2 separate regions of the Homo sapiens genome follow, and region 1 is linked to region 2. Evidence: promoter capture Hi-C in 16 types of primary human blood cells and fetal thymus (Javierre and others, 2016). All regions are on one chromosome and are shown on one strand. The core of a region is centred on a gene start or on the middle of the fragment in contact, and the rest is flanking DNA. Distances in the headings are between cores, read along the strand shown.

The links. The method cuts DNA at HindIII sites, captures the fragments that hold promoters and counts their contacts. A CHiCAGO score of 5 or more calls a contact.
Region 1: a contact is called between a fragment that was not itself captured here and the fragment with the promoter of KCNQ1DN in region 2, in 1 of 17 cell types (M1 macrophages). The highest score is 5.5, in M1 macrophages.

What each region holds. Positions count from the first base shown.
Region 1 is chr11:2,242,668-2,249,842 of GRCh38, forward strand. No RefSeq gene overlaps it. Among named protein-coding and RNA genes, the nearest start is that of ASCL2, 24 kb to the right of the region's middle. The HindIII fragment of the contact is 611 bases long and covers 1,753-2,363 here.
Region 2 is chr11:2,867,796-2,874,544 of GRCh38, forward strand. It overlaps KCNQ1DN (KCNQ1 downstream neighbor), which reads left to right and starts at 2,238. Exons shown (of 2, transcript NR_024627.1): 1 at 2,238-3,069; 2 at 4,050-4,310. RefSeq lists a cis regulatory region at 1-1,129 and an enhancer at 1,129-1,637. The HindIII fragment of the contact is 4,919 bases long and covers 745-5,663 here.

The DNA.
Region 1 (7,175 bases), core at 808-3,307, 630 kb before region 2:
TCATTTCATAATGATATAAGAGTCAGTCCATCAAGAGGATTTAGTAATCAAAATGTTTATACACCCAGTAACAGAGCCTTAAAACAAATAAAGCAGAAAACTGACCAAATTACTAGGAGAAATAGACAAATTCACATTATAACAGGAAATTCAATATTCCTCTTTCAATAATAGAACAAGTAGACAGAGAATTGGTAAGGATATAAGAGACTTGAACAAAACAATCAACTTGATTTAGCTGACACTAATAGGACGCTCCACCTGATAACAACACAATACATAATCTTCTCAAGTGCACAAGGAGCATTTACTGAGACAGATCTTACTATGGGCCATAAAACAAGTCTCAGTAATTTCAAAAGGATTCAAGCAACACAAAGTATGCTCTCTGACCAAAAAGAAATTGAATTACAATTCAAAATTAAATTCAAAGTTAACAGAAAGAAGGAAACAATAAAAATCGAGAAGTAAATCAAGGAAACAAAGCACAGGGAAAAATGAGAAAAAAATCAATAAACCAAAAATGGATTCTTTTTGAGAAAATCAATCAAATTGCTGAACTTCTACCAAGATTAATCAGGAAAAAAAAGACAGAAACTGCCAGTATTAGGAAGTAAGAGAGATGACATCATTTACAGATTCTACAGATATCCAAAGGATAATACGGGCTATTACAAATAACTTTATTCTGATAAATTGACATCTTAAACAAAATGAACAAATTCAATGAAAGACTGAAATTACCAAAACTCATACAAGAAAAAATAGATAACCTAAATACACTCACAAACACAAATTAAATTTCTAGTAAAAATTCTATTCACAAAGAAAACATCACAGCATCACTGGTAAATTTTACCAAACATTTAAAGAAAAAGGATACCAATTCTAGAAACACTCTTTCTAAAAATTAAAGAAGAGGGAATACTCCTTCACCATTTCTATGAGACCAGGATTATTACCCTGATACCAAAAGTAGGCAAAGACATTACAAGAAGAGAAAACTAAGGCTAAAACCTGTCATAAAAATAGATGCAAGAATTCTAAACAAAATTTTATCAAATCAAGCCTGAAAATATGTAAAAAGGATAATATCTCATGATCAAGTGTGGTTTCAGAATACAAGGTTGGTTTAACACTCAAAAATCAATCAATATAAATTTTCATATTAATGAAACTAGAAAAGGAAAAGCATATTATTATCAATATACATATGTGCACTGGTTAGGGTTCTCCAGAGAAACAGAACCAACAGGGGTGTGTGCGTGTGTGTGTGTGTGTGTGTGTGTGTGTGTGGAGAGAGAGAGACACACAGAGAGAGAGAAAAAGAGAGAGAAAATCCAAAATCGGCAGGGTAAGTGGCAGACTGGAGCCCCAGGAAAAAGCTGCAGCCCAAATCCAAAAGCAGTCTGCTGGCAGAATTCCTTCTGGCTTAGAGAAAGTCAATCTTTGTTTTGTTAAGGCCTTCGTCAACTGCTTAGATGAGGACTATGGTTCAAGCTTGTCCAACCTGTGGCCCATGGGCCACATGCAGCCAGGCACTGCTTTCAATGCAGCCCAACACAAATTAGTAAACTTTCTTAAAACATGAGACTTTTTTGCAAAATTTTTTTTAGCTCATCAGCTATCATTCGTGTTAGTATATTTTATGTGTAGCCCAAGACAATTCTTCTTTTCCCAGTGTGGCCCAGGAAAGCCAAAAGATTGGACACCCCTGGTTTAGATGTTTGTCCCCTCCAAACTTCATACTGAAGCTTGATCCCCGATGTTAGAGGTGAGGCCTAATGGGAGGTGTTTTGGTGATGAGGCCAGATCCCTCCTGAATAGATCCTCCCTCAAGGATGAGTCAGTTCTTTACTGGTTGCTGTTTATTAAAAGAGCCTGGCATCTCCCCTTCTTTGCTCGCTCTTGCTTTCTCTCTCACCATGATGCAGATGCCCAATCTTGAAATTTTCGGCCATAAGAATCATGAGCCAAATAAATCTTTTTTCTGTATAGATCTCCAGTCTCAGGTATTTCTTTATAGCAACACAAAATGAACTAAGACAAGGACCCTGCACATTGTGGAGGTTAATCTGCCCTACTCGGAGTTCACCAATTTAACATTAATCTCATCCAAAAGTTACCTTAGCTGAAGCATCTAGAATAATATTTGACCAGACATCTAGGCACAGTAGTCCAACCAATTTGATACATAAAATCAACCACCGCAATGCTAAGAAAAAGTATCTAACAAACAATATACAATATCCTTTCCTGATAAAAACTCTCAGCAAATTAGGAATAAAAGGGAATTTCTTCAACCTGATAAGGAGTATCTATGAAAAACTTACAGCTAACATATTTAATGGTAAACGATTGAAAGCTTTCTTCCTGAGATGGGAAACAAGGTGAAGATATCTGCTCTACCCAGTGTAATAAGAAAATAAAAAGAAACAAATACACCCAGATTGGAATGGAAGAAGAAAAACTGTCTTAATTTATACAAGAAATGATTGCCTATGTAGATGGTCAAACAGAATCTACATGAAACACACAAAGAACAATCAGACATTGAAATTTTACTAGCATAAAAATGCAAAATACTGCGAGAGAAATCTAAAAAAATATGTACAAGTCTGGTGTACTGAAAACTATAAAACATTCCTGAGAAAAAACAAGTAATACCCAAATAAATAAAGAAATATACTGAGTCCTAGATTGAAAGACTCAGAATTATTATCAGGATGTCAGTTTCTGACAAATTCATCTATAGATTCAACGTAATCTCAATCAGCACCCCAGCAAGCTTTCTGTAGAAACTGACAAACTGATTTTAAAATTCCTATGGAAATCCAAAGGACCTACAGTAACCAAAACATCTTTGAAACAGAACAACATACTTAGAGGACTTACTGTATCTGATTTCAAGGTTATAAAATTATAATAATTAAGACAGTGTTCTACTGGCATAATGATAGAGAAGTAAATCAGTGGAACAGATCAGATAGCCAAGAAATAGACTCACACATGAGGACAGCTAGTTTGACAAAGGTGCAAAGTCAGTTTAATAGAGAAATTGTATCTTTTCAACCAATGATGCTGGAACAATTGGATATCCACCTGCAAAAAGACAAAATAACTTTGACCAATTCCTCAAGCTGTATTCAAATTCATTAATGTAAAATGAATTAGTAACCTAATATAAATGTAAAACTGTGAAACTGTTAGATGAAAACATGGTGGAAAATCTTTGTGACCTTAGATTAGTCACAGAAAGGATATGACGGCAAAGGCACAATTCATAAAAGAAAGGTGGCTAAATGGAATGTCATCAAAATTTAAAAATTCCACTCTTTTGAAAGGCAGTCATAAGAGAATAAAGAAAGCAAGCCATCAGCTGATAGGAAATATTCACAAATCATATTACGATGAAGGACTTATATCCAGAATATTCATTGCATATTCTCTGTGTATTTTCAAAAATGAATAGTAAGAAAACAACCCTATAAAAATGAGCAAAAAAGATATACAGATATCTCCTACACACTTGACCAAAGAAGATATATGGATAATAAATAAGGTCATGAAAACATGCTCAACATCATTAATCATTAGGAAAATGAAAATTAAAAATCGTAATGAGATATCGCTACACACCTATTAGAATGGTTAAATTTTCTTGCTTTAAAACTGATCATACCAACTTTTGGCAAAGGTAGGAGAAACTGTAATTCTCATGCACTGTGAGTGGGAAGATTAATGGTACAACCCCTTTAAAAAATGATTTGGTAGATTCTTAAAAGGTGAAACACACACCGGCCGGCCATATGATCCATCCATTCCACTCCTAGGTATTTATTCAAGAAAAATGAAAGCATTTGTCTCCACAAAGACTTGTTCATGAATGTTTATAGCATTGGATCATAGATAGCCCAAACCAGAAACAATCCAAGTGACGCCTAACAAGTGAAGGTATAAGCAAATATACCCATTCATGTTATTTATCAATAAAAATAAATGAACGATTGATACCTGCAACAATATCAATGAATCTCAAAATAAGTATATGGCATGAGATAAGCCAGACAAAAGAATACATCCTGTATGTGTCCATTGACATAACACCGTAGAATGCAAAGAATACCTGATAGAAGGCGGATCAGTGGTTACCTAAGGCTGGGGAGGAGGGGTGGGAGGAAGGGATTACACAGTTGTAATTTAATTACGAATTTAAAACTTACAAGAAATTGTTGACGGTGATGATGGTCTCACTGTTGTACACATATGTCAAAATTCATAAAACTCTGCATTTTGGCCCAGTGTGGTAGCTCACGCCTGTAATCCCAGCACTTTGGGAGGCTGAGGCAGGTGGATCACCTGAGGTCAGGGGTTCCAGACCTGCCTGGCCAACGTGGTGAAACCTCATCTCTATTAAAAATACAAAAAACTTAGCCGGGCGTGGTGGCACGCACCTATAGTCCCAGCTACTCAGGAGGCTGAGGCAGGATAATTGCTTGAACCCTAGATGCAGAGGTTGCATTGAGCCGAGATTGCACCACTGCACTCTAGCCTGGGCAACAGAGAGAGACCTATCTAAAAAAAAAAAAAAAAAAAAAAAAAAAAAAAAACAAAAAAAAACCTCTATATTTTAAATATGTGTAGTTTATTGTATGTCAGTTAGCCCCCAATAAACCTATAACTTCCCAGGGGAAATGGCTGAGATTGATGCCACCTTCAAAGAGTTAAAGAAGGCCTAGGTAGTAACCCCCACCATCTCTCTCGTGATTTCCCCTCTCTGGCCTCTCTGCAGACTGGCTGAATCAGAATAGATGATTGCAGACCTCAAACTCAACCAAGTAGCAACACCAAATGGGCTGCCAGGCCAGATGTGGTATCTTCGTTTAATCTTAGATTAAATTAGATTCATTTAATCTAAGATTAAATTAACACTGCCCCTGGTACCCGGTATCAGTAGCTACGGATTCTGTGAATGAATTCTCTTCCATCTCATCAGGAGAGAGTGTGAGAAGCAATTTGCATTCGCACAGGAGGGACAACAGTACACAGTCACAGTTTTGCCCCAGGGATATGTTAATTCTTCTGCTCTTTGTCACAGTATAGTCCAAAGGGAAAAGGCCCTCTGGACATTCCACAGATTATCACGTTAGTTCACTATACTGATGGCAGTCTGTTAACTGGATCTGACGAGCAAGCAGGGGAAAGTACTCTGGACGCCCCAAGTAAGGCACACGAGCCAGGCTGGGAGATAAATTCCACGAAGCTTTAGAGGCCTGCTACATCATGATCTTATTACCATGAAGTTATTGCCATAAAATCTGGCAAATCCCATGGTACAAGAGGTATTTGCAATGGAGAAAGACACCACACACACAGAGCCCCTGGAGAACTTCAAAGAAGAGTCATGGCCCAGACTCCTTGGGCTCTGGAAGAAGGCCGTGCAGAGAACGATACCATTCAGAAAGAGGTTCCTGCTCTCCTGTGGGAACCTCTAGAGAAAGAGTTTCTGGTCATGGACGTTAAGTGACCATGTGGTCAGAGATGCCCATCTTGAGCTAGGATCTGTTAAACCCACCAAATCAGAAGGTCAGGCAAGCCCAGCAGCATCCAGTATACATGGGAAAAGACACCTCCTGGGACTGCGAACAAGCAGAGGGCAAAAGAAAGCGACATAATCCGGGGATCGGAACCCCCACGTCATCTACCAGTGTTGCACTGACACCTCTTCTTCAGTCCACACCTGTGGCCTCCTGCAGAGGTCCCTCTGACCAGCCGATGGAGAAGGAAGGGGCCTGAGCTTCACTCATTGGCAGGTTAGCTAGAAACGTTAGTGAGCCCCCAAAGGACTGCTCCTGCACTGCAGCCCACTCAGGTGGTGGTGATGGTGGCGATGGGGTAACCCTCCCAGGGGGCCGAGCTTTGAGTGCAGGACCTGGTCGTGCACTTGTAGGGAGAGAAGCGAACCAAATCAGTGGTTCTATTTCTAGCAGTTTTAGGCTCTACAGGGCCATTCCCAGAGCGGGACGCTTCCACCGGAAGACGCTATTAAGACAGCTTCCACCTGGTCACTTCGGGCTCCTGGTATCAACAATCTGGCAGAGAGAATGAAGTTCCCATACTGGCAGGGGTAACTGGCTGGGAGCATCATGAGAAGGTATGAATACAGTCATCAATGGGGGCGGGCAGGTGACCCACCAGGGGCATCTCTTGGTGCTGCCATGCACAGATCTTCCCGCAAGTAGCAAGCGCCACAGTGTGAGCATGATAAGGCCATGGTGACCACAGGCTGCTCAAGGTCCCGGCTATCTGACACGGATGGAGGAGGAAGGGGCGGTGGCTATCAGTCAGGGCCCCAGGCAATGAAAATGGCAATGGCAATGGCAGGAGTAGGCACTGGCGTTCATCCCACTCAGCCTGTTAGTGTCAATTTCCCCTGGTGTTGGGACCAATTTGATCCTGGAGAAGCTCTCCTCAGGGGAGCAAACCTCCTACACAGGTGGGCTGTGCGGGGGGTGGGGGTGGAGTAAGGCGTGTTGGGTCATGGGTGCTACTGGTGTCCTCCCCAACTCCTTTTATCTGGACCGTGTGCCTATCCCCCAGCTGTTAAGTGTTGACAACTAATGGCTCAATGAAGAGCTGTTTAGCTAAAGGGAAGCCCCACATCCGGGACGTGTGTGCCCTGGGGGACACACAGCAAATGACTGACAAGGAGGAACAGAAGGCAGCCTCTTGCTTCCAGTCCTGGGAGACCATGCTGAAGCCCTGCCTCCTGGCTTATCTGTATCTCCTGCACAAGAATTCCAGCCCAGGCTCTGTTTCTAGGGAGTGTGCCCTGAGATGCCAGCGCTTGAGCTTCGAGAGCACGAGGGGGTAGGTTCTGGTGGACAGGGACCCCGGTGTGACGACAACTGCAAGGTTCACCTTGGACCCTGGCACTATCCTCCCACCAGGCTGGAAAAGGAGACCAGGACATGGCCCCAGCACAGCCCCCAGGTGGGCAAACCGGCAGGCTGGGCTGGCTAAGCTCTTGGTGTTCTTTGTGTGGGGGTAGGTGGGGCTGGTGAGGGCGGGACTGGCTGCAGGTCCTTCAGCGGGTCCCTGCTGGACCTCCGTGGCGGGGACAGGGATGAAATTAAAACAGACCCGACTCCATTCAATCTCAGCGATCCATGACT
Region 2 (6,749 bases), core at 988-3,487:
TGCCGGAGGCGCTGGGCCTCCCTCCCACTCACCGGGGCCTTCATTAACAGCCGCGTCCAGACCAGCTGGAGTCAGCTGATTAGCCCATTCTAAGTGGCATTGGGAGTCCCCCCACCCCCTGTATCTATTTTTTCACCCGCACATGTTCAATTCAATTTTGCTTTTGTGCCAGAGAGGCCTCTGATGTGAGTGTTTCTGGGGAGTTTTTCCATGTTTCTTTATGTCCTCGAAACCAAAGTCAGTCACCAACTTTCAGAAAACACCCTCCTGGATTGAAGCGGGTAAGAGGAAAGAAAAACACACAACACAAAACAAAAGCAAAAGAAAACAAAAGAGAAAGCACTGGCTGCCTTTCTACAGAATCCTCCTGCGAGGAGACAATTCATTTCAATTGAAACGTTTCCATTGTGCGGCATTCGGAACGCGCTCCTCGCGTTGGGCAGAAATGCAAATCCCCCTTTTTCCTTTGATTCAAATATTTAAATTTTCAAATATATATGCTGCGACAATTGAATGGCAGCTGACCTCACTTATTTTCATAGAAGCAATGCGGAAGCCACAGGCTGCAGTTAATCTCGCCAGCAGCGCCCCGCCTGCTGACAGCGGTACGGTCAGTCCTGGGGGGGCGCAGGGAATAATCCTTTTATTCAGACATTTGGCTTAAAAGAATAACAAGGAGGAAAAGCTGGAACATAATTGCATTGCATGGAAAACAGAGAAAGATTTTTTTCTCTCTCTCTAACAAGCTTTCTCCTTTTCCTTCCTCAAAGAATCGGAGGCTCACGGCCAGAGGCTGTTTTCTTGGTAAAGAAATCGGGAGTGTTTTCCTTCCACTATTGTCCCCACTCCCGCCCACCCCCCGAGGGATTTTCATAGTTGGGTTGGCTGCCACACTGGCTCATCCATTCATTCATTCATTCACTCACTCACTCATTCTGCAAACTCGGAAGGAAGACCTACTGTCTGTCCAGCTCAGCTGGGCTGGGGGCAGGGCGAGCCAGACACTCCCCAGGCAGCCTTCCTCTCCTGGACTGGGACGCCCCCACAGAGCCACACCGTGACCCTCGGAGGCACCCTGAAGCATAACTGGGCCAACCGTGCCTGCAGGAAGCCCCTTTGTTCCTCCTTGGGGCCCCAGAGCACCTGAGTGAAAGAGTCTGAGACCGGAGGGGCAGCCAGAGGGGGCCCTGGAGGGAGGCGGAGGGACCCCCTCCCTGGGCCAGCCAGGCCAGCGTCTGCCAGAGTCGCTGTTGCTAAGTCCTCTTCTTGCAGCCTGGGGATCCCAGAGGACCCCGGCCCAGTCCATCAGCTGGGCTGGGTCTTTAATATTTAAAGAGCTCTCCCGGACATTTCAAGAACTCCCCGACACGATTTTCTGTGATGCGTGGGCTGTCGGGACATCTGTCTTCTATACCTAATAAAGTCGCCCGACGCAGAATGAACTCCTCGGCATCGCTTTGAATCCGGGCTCACATATGGTTGCTAATTAGCTGGCTATCTCTTGGAGTTAAATGATTTTTTTTCTCGCCCCGTTCGCATCCATAATAGACGCGAACAGAGTCGTGATTGTTCCCTGTTGCGGGACATTCTGCGCCTGAATGAGCGGGGGCTGCTGTGTCGACGCGGATTTGCCATATGGTTGCGCGGAGCCAGGAAGAATGGGCCCCTGTGTGTGCGACCGGGACGCAGCGGCGCGGGCCGTGCCAGCCGGGCGGAGCCGGGTGCCCGACGGCGCAGGACGAGCGGGCGCAGGACGAGCGAGCGCAGCGGGCGCGGGCGCACCGTCGGGGCGCGGGGACCCCGAGGGCCAGCGGAGCCGTGCTGCGCGCAGGGATGGACGCTGGGCGCCCAAGGCCCGTTCCCGTGGACAGGCGCGCGGAGGGCAGCAGGACCGATGCACCGACGGACGCACCGACGGACGCGCGGACAGATGCGCCGACCGCAGGCTCTCCCGCCGTCCCGGGGCCGTCGTGCCCGTGCAGGCCGCGAGCAGCGGCGGGGCCGGCTCTGCGGCTGCAGCAGCCCCATTGTGAGGCCGGCGAGACAATGGGCGGCCCGAGGAGGCACCTGCTCGCCTGAAAGGCCCATAAATCGCCGCCGCGTCCAGCTGCCTTCCCGCCCCTCCCCGCGGACCCGCTAGCGGGAAGCGCGGCCGCGGCCGGGAGGGGGAGGCTCGGTCCGACAGTCGGGCAGGGCCGCCTGGGCCACCGCCGCGCGCTCCCTCCCGCCTGGGCGCAGCTGCCCGCACGCCCCGACGGGAGCTGCGCCCAGCCTCCCCTCTGGAGTCGGCGCTCCAGGCTGCTGCCCGGCCGGTGGCCAAGGCCCCAGCACCACCGTCCCTCCTGCAGGGCATCCAGCACCTACCCTTCCACTGGGCGGCTCCTGGTTCTGGTCCCGGCTGGCTCACTCAGGCTGCCTTTGGACCAGATTCTTGAACTTTTCCACCAAGGATGTTGCTGCTGTTTGTAGCGTCGGATCCTGGAAAATCGCTGTGTTGGGGAGCAGCAGGCTCTCCCTTGCTCCCCCAGGGCCTGGGAAAATCAACCCACCTCTGCCCCCCGACCCCAGGGCTGTAACCTGGTGTCTGGTAGCCCCACTGTGATAAACCGAAGCCCAGCACAGTTTGGGACTCGCCCCGAGTTGACTTATGCAGCCCCCAGAACAGAGGCTGAAACCCGGCGCATCCTGGTGAAGCCACACCCAGCCGGCCTGGTCCCAGGCCCCGGGCACGGGGTCCCCTCCACTCCCATCTGCTTCCCTTTCAGAGCCGGGGCTGAGTCGGCAGGGACGCAGGCTCAGGGCCCTGGATTCCCGCTTTCTGGACACTTGCGTGCATGCCCAGCACCAGCTCGCCCTTCTGAGAAAGCAATCCCTCCTCAGAGGGGAGAAGCCGTGGCTGTGATGGGCAGGAAGTGGTCAGGACCCACTGCCGAGCACCAACTCCCCATGCCACCACCAGGGGTGCGCCTGGACTCCTGGAAAGGGGTCGCGTCAGGGTGCAGCCCATCAAAGGCTTCCCAAGAGGCAAGAGGCAAGGAGAAGTGTCCTACTTTAAACGGCCAGCCTCAGGTGAGCACCAGAGATCGGGCCCAGACCTGTGTAGAGAAAAGGAGGCAATGGCCCCTGGCTACAGACAAGGACCCTGAGGCTGCCCTCTTCCCTCTGCACCTTTGGTTAGGCACTGCCTCTCTGTGTGGAAGGAGCAGGACTCGGTCCCAAGACCATTTGGCCACGCTGTGCCCTCGGGACCAGCACGTGCTGGCACCCCGATCCCACTGGGACTCTCTTCCAGGAAAAGGCTTGTGTTCAGTTCCCAGGGCTCTGCCAACACCAGCCCTGTGCTGGCTGCCTGCAGCAGGCACCCCATGGGGACCACATCCCTGGGCCTGGAGGAGCTGGCTGAGACAGAGGCGGGCCCGAGGCCAGGCCTTTGCCCGCCACTGCTGCTCCAGGCACTCCTGGAGGGCTCTGAGCATGCTCCTTAGGTCTCCCGGCTGCAGGGAGGACACTCACTCCCACCCCCAGGTGTCTGGTGCTTTGATTTTAATTATTTCTAGCCTTCCAGTGCCATCTCTTATCGCCCCCTCCCCAGTCTCCTAATAAAGGGCCAGCGCCCCCCGCCTTCCTCTAGCCTCCCTGACATATTAGAAGAATGTTTTTCCATTTCCTTTGATGTCTGTTACAAGTTGCATCTCATTTCCTGCTTGGGCATTTCTGACCTCGAGTGACTCCGGCCGCCGTGGCTGCGTGGCTGGTCTGCTCCTCATACCCCGCCCAGACGCCAGCTTGAGAGGATTTGGTCCTCCGTGTGCCGCCACCGCCAACTCAGTTTCCCCCTACCCTCCCCACTTTGTTTTCTGGGGCTCCAAGGGGGAGGTCAGGCCCTCAACCCTGTTTCCATGGAGAGGGCTCCTCACGGGGGGCGGGGGGGCATCCCTCCATGGGACAGGGAGGGCTCCTCACGGTTGAGGGGGGCGCCCATCCTTCTATGGGGCTTCCTAAAGACCTGCATTCTTCCCTTCATTTTTCTGGGATTACTCCCCTTTCAGTGGTCGGCCCTGTTCACTCTGCCACCTCAGAGAGAGTGAACCCAGCAGAGGTGTGACGGGAGGCTGGGGAGAGACCCCAGCACCTTGAGCACACAGGAGCCAGGAGGAGCCCAACAGAGCAGCAGGGGCTGGGGTCTTCTCCTGAAGCCTGACTCCATGGGACCCCAAAGAAGCAGATGGAAAACTGAAAAAGAAAACCCCTCAAGTGAGCCACTGGAAAGAAAGCAAAACAAGAGAAAATAAATGAGTTGTTTGACATAATTTAACTTGTCTGTTTTTCCATCTTCCTTCCTGCTCACCCCACCATCACCGTGGCCCCATCTAGTTGAGGCACACAGCTCTGGGCTTAAAGGAACCAAGGGGCATGTCTCAGAGCAGTCTCCAAATTGGGTGCTAGGACCCAAGAAATGCAGAGAGGGCAGTGGCTGTGAGAGAGGTTTGCATAAGAAAACAGACAAGACAGAACTTGGTTTTATCTTTTTTTTTTTTTTTTTTTTTTTGAGACAGAGTTCTGCTCTTGTTGCCCAGGCCAGAGTGCAATGGTGTGGTCTGGGCTCACTGCAACCTCTGCCCCCCGGGTTCAAGCGATTCTCCTGCCTCAGCCTCCCTCTCGAGTAGCTGGGATTACAGGCGCCCACCACCACACTCAGCTAATTTTTTTTTTTTTTTTTTTTGTAATTTTAGTAGAGACAGGGTTTTGCCATGGTGGCCAGGCTGGTCTCGAACTCTTGACCTCAGGTGATCTGCCCGCCTGAGCCACCCAAAGTACTGGGATTACAGGCATGATCCACCACGCATGGCCAGTTTTGCCTTAAAACCACAGCTAGACTCCTCCACAGGGACCAGGACCTAGGCCATGTCTGTCCTGGCTGCAGAGGTGGGTCAGCCCCATACAGTGCTCTCTGGAAGAGAAACAGGGAGCAGCGTGGCTCCTGCACAGAGGCACCTGGCTGGCCCTTGGCCTACTGGTAGCCTCCAAGGGTAGATGCCAGGTATCTCAGTCCATTTGTGCCACAGTAACAAAATACCTGAGACTGGGTGATTTATTTTCTATTTTTTATTTATTTATTTATTTATTTATTTTTGAGATGGGGTTTTGCTCTTGCTGCCCAGATTGGAGTGTGATGGCACGATCTTGGCTCACTGCAACCTCTGCCTCCCAGGTTCAAGCGATTCTCCTGCCTCAGCCTCCTGACTAGCTGGGATTACAGGCATGTGCCACCACACCCGGCTAATTTTGTATTTTTAGTAGAGATGAGGTTTCTCCATGTTTGTCAGGCTGGTCTCGAACTCCTGACCTCAGGTAATCCACCCACCTTGGCTTCCCAAAGTGCTGGGATTACAGGTGTGAGCCACTGCGCCTGGCTAATTTTCTAGGTTTAGTAGAGATGGGGTTTCTCCATGTTGGTCAGGCTGGTCTTGAACTCCTGACCTCAGGTGATCCACGAGACTGGGTGATTTATAAATAACAGAAATGTATTTCTCACCGTTCTGGAGGCTGGGAAGTCCAAGATCAAGGTGCCAGTGCAATCAGGGTCTGGTGAGGGCTCTCTGCTTCCAAGATGGCACTGTGTTGTAAGTGAAGCGAACGCTTTGGGAAGCCTCTTTTATAAAAGCTTTAATCTCACTCAGAGGGAGGAACCCTCAGGCTTAAATACCTCCTAAAGGCCCTATTTCTTTCTCTCTTCTTTTTTTTTTTTTTTTTTTTTTTGTGAGACACAGTCTTGCTCTGTTGCCCAGGCTGGAATACAGTCGTACCATCTCAGCTCACTGCAACCTCCACCTCCTGGGTTCAAGCAGTTCTCCCTGCCTCAGACTTCCAAGTACCTAGGTAACAGGTGCCCACCACCATGCCCAGTTAATTTTTGTATTTTTAGTAGAGATGGGGTTTCACCATGTTGGCCAGGCTGGTCTCAAACTCCTGACGTCAGGTGATCTGCCCACTTCGACCTCCCAAAGTGCTAGGATTACAGGCGTGAGCCACTGTGCCTGGCCCTTTTTTTTTTTTTTTTTTTTTTTTTTTGACAGGATCTGGCTCTCTGGCTCTGTCAACCAGGCTGTGGTACAGTGGCACGGTCATGGCTCACTGCAACCTCCACCTCCCAGGCTTGAGTGATCCTCCCATCTCAGCCTCCTGACTAGCACGCATCACCACACCTGGCTAATATTTCTTTTTTTGTAGAGAAAAGTTCTCCCTACATTGCCCAGGCTGGTCTGAAAATCCTGGGCTCAAGCAATCCACTCACCTCAGCCTCCCAAAGTGCTGAGATCACAGGCTTGAGCTACTGCGCCCAGCTTCCCACTTACATTAATACTATCACATTGGCCAGTAAGTTTCAGACACGAATTCTGGAGGGGACATAGTCAAACCCAGCACCAGGTCTCAGGTGTCCTTACTTCTCCCTCTGCAATTCCGGCTTCACCACAGCCCTCAGGTGTAAGGCCTTGTTGTCCAGACCATGTGCTTTTTCCCAGGACTGAGAGTGAAGTGCTGAGGTTGCATGATAAAAACCCATGTGACTATATGACCATTAAAGTGAATAGCCCCCAGAGCACTGGGCGGTGGGGACCGGGGCTCCCTCCTACACAGACAGACCAATTAAGGTCTTCCAGGCCTGCATGTAGGCCAGGCTACAGGGATGGAATCAGCACCCAGCTAGAGCAGAAGGGTCTAAAGGAACCAAAAGGGGTTCTGGGACA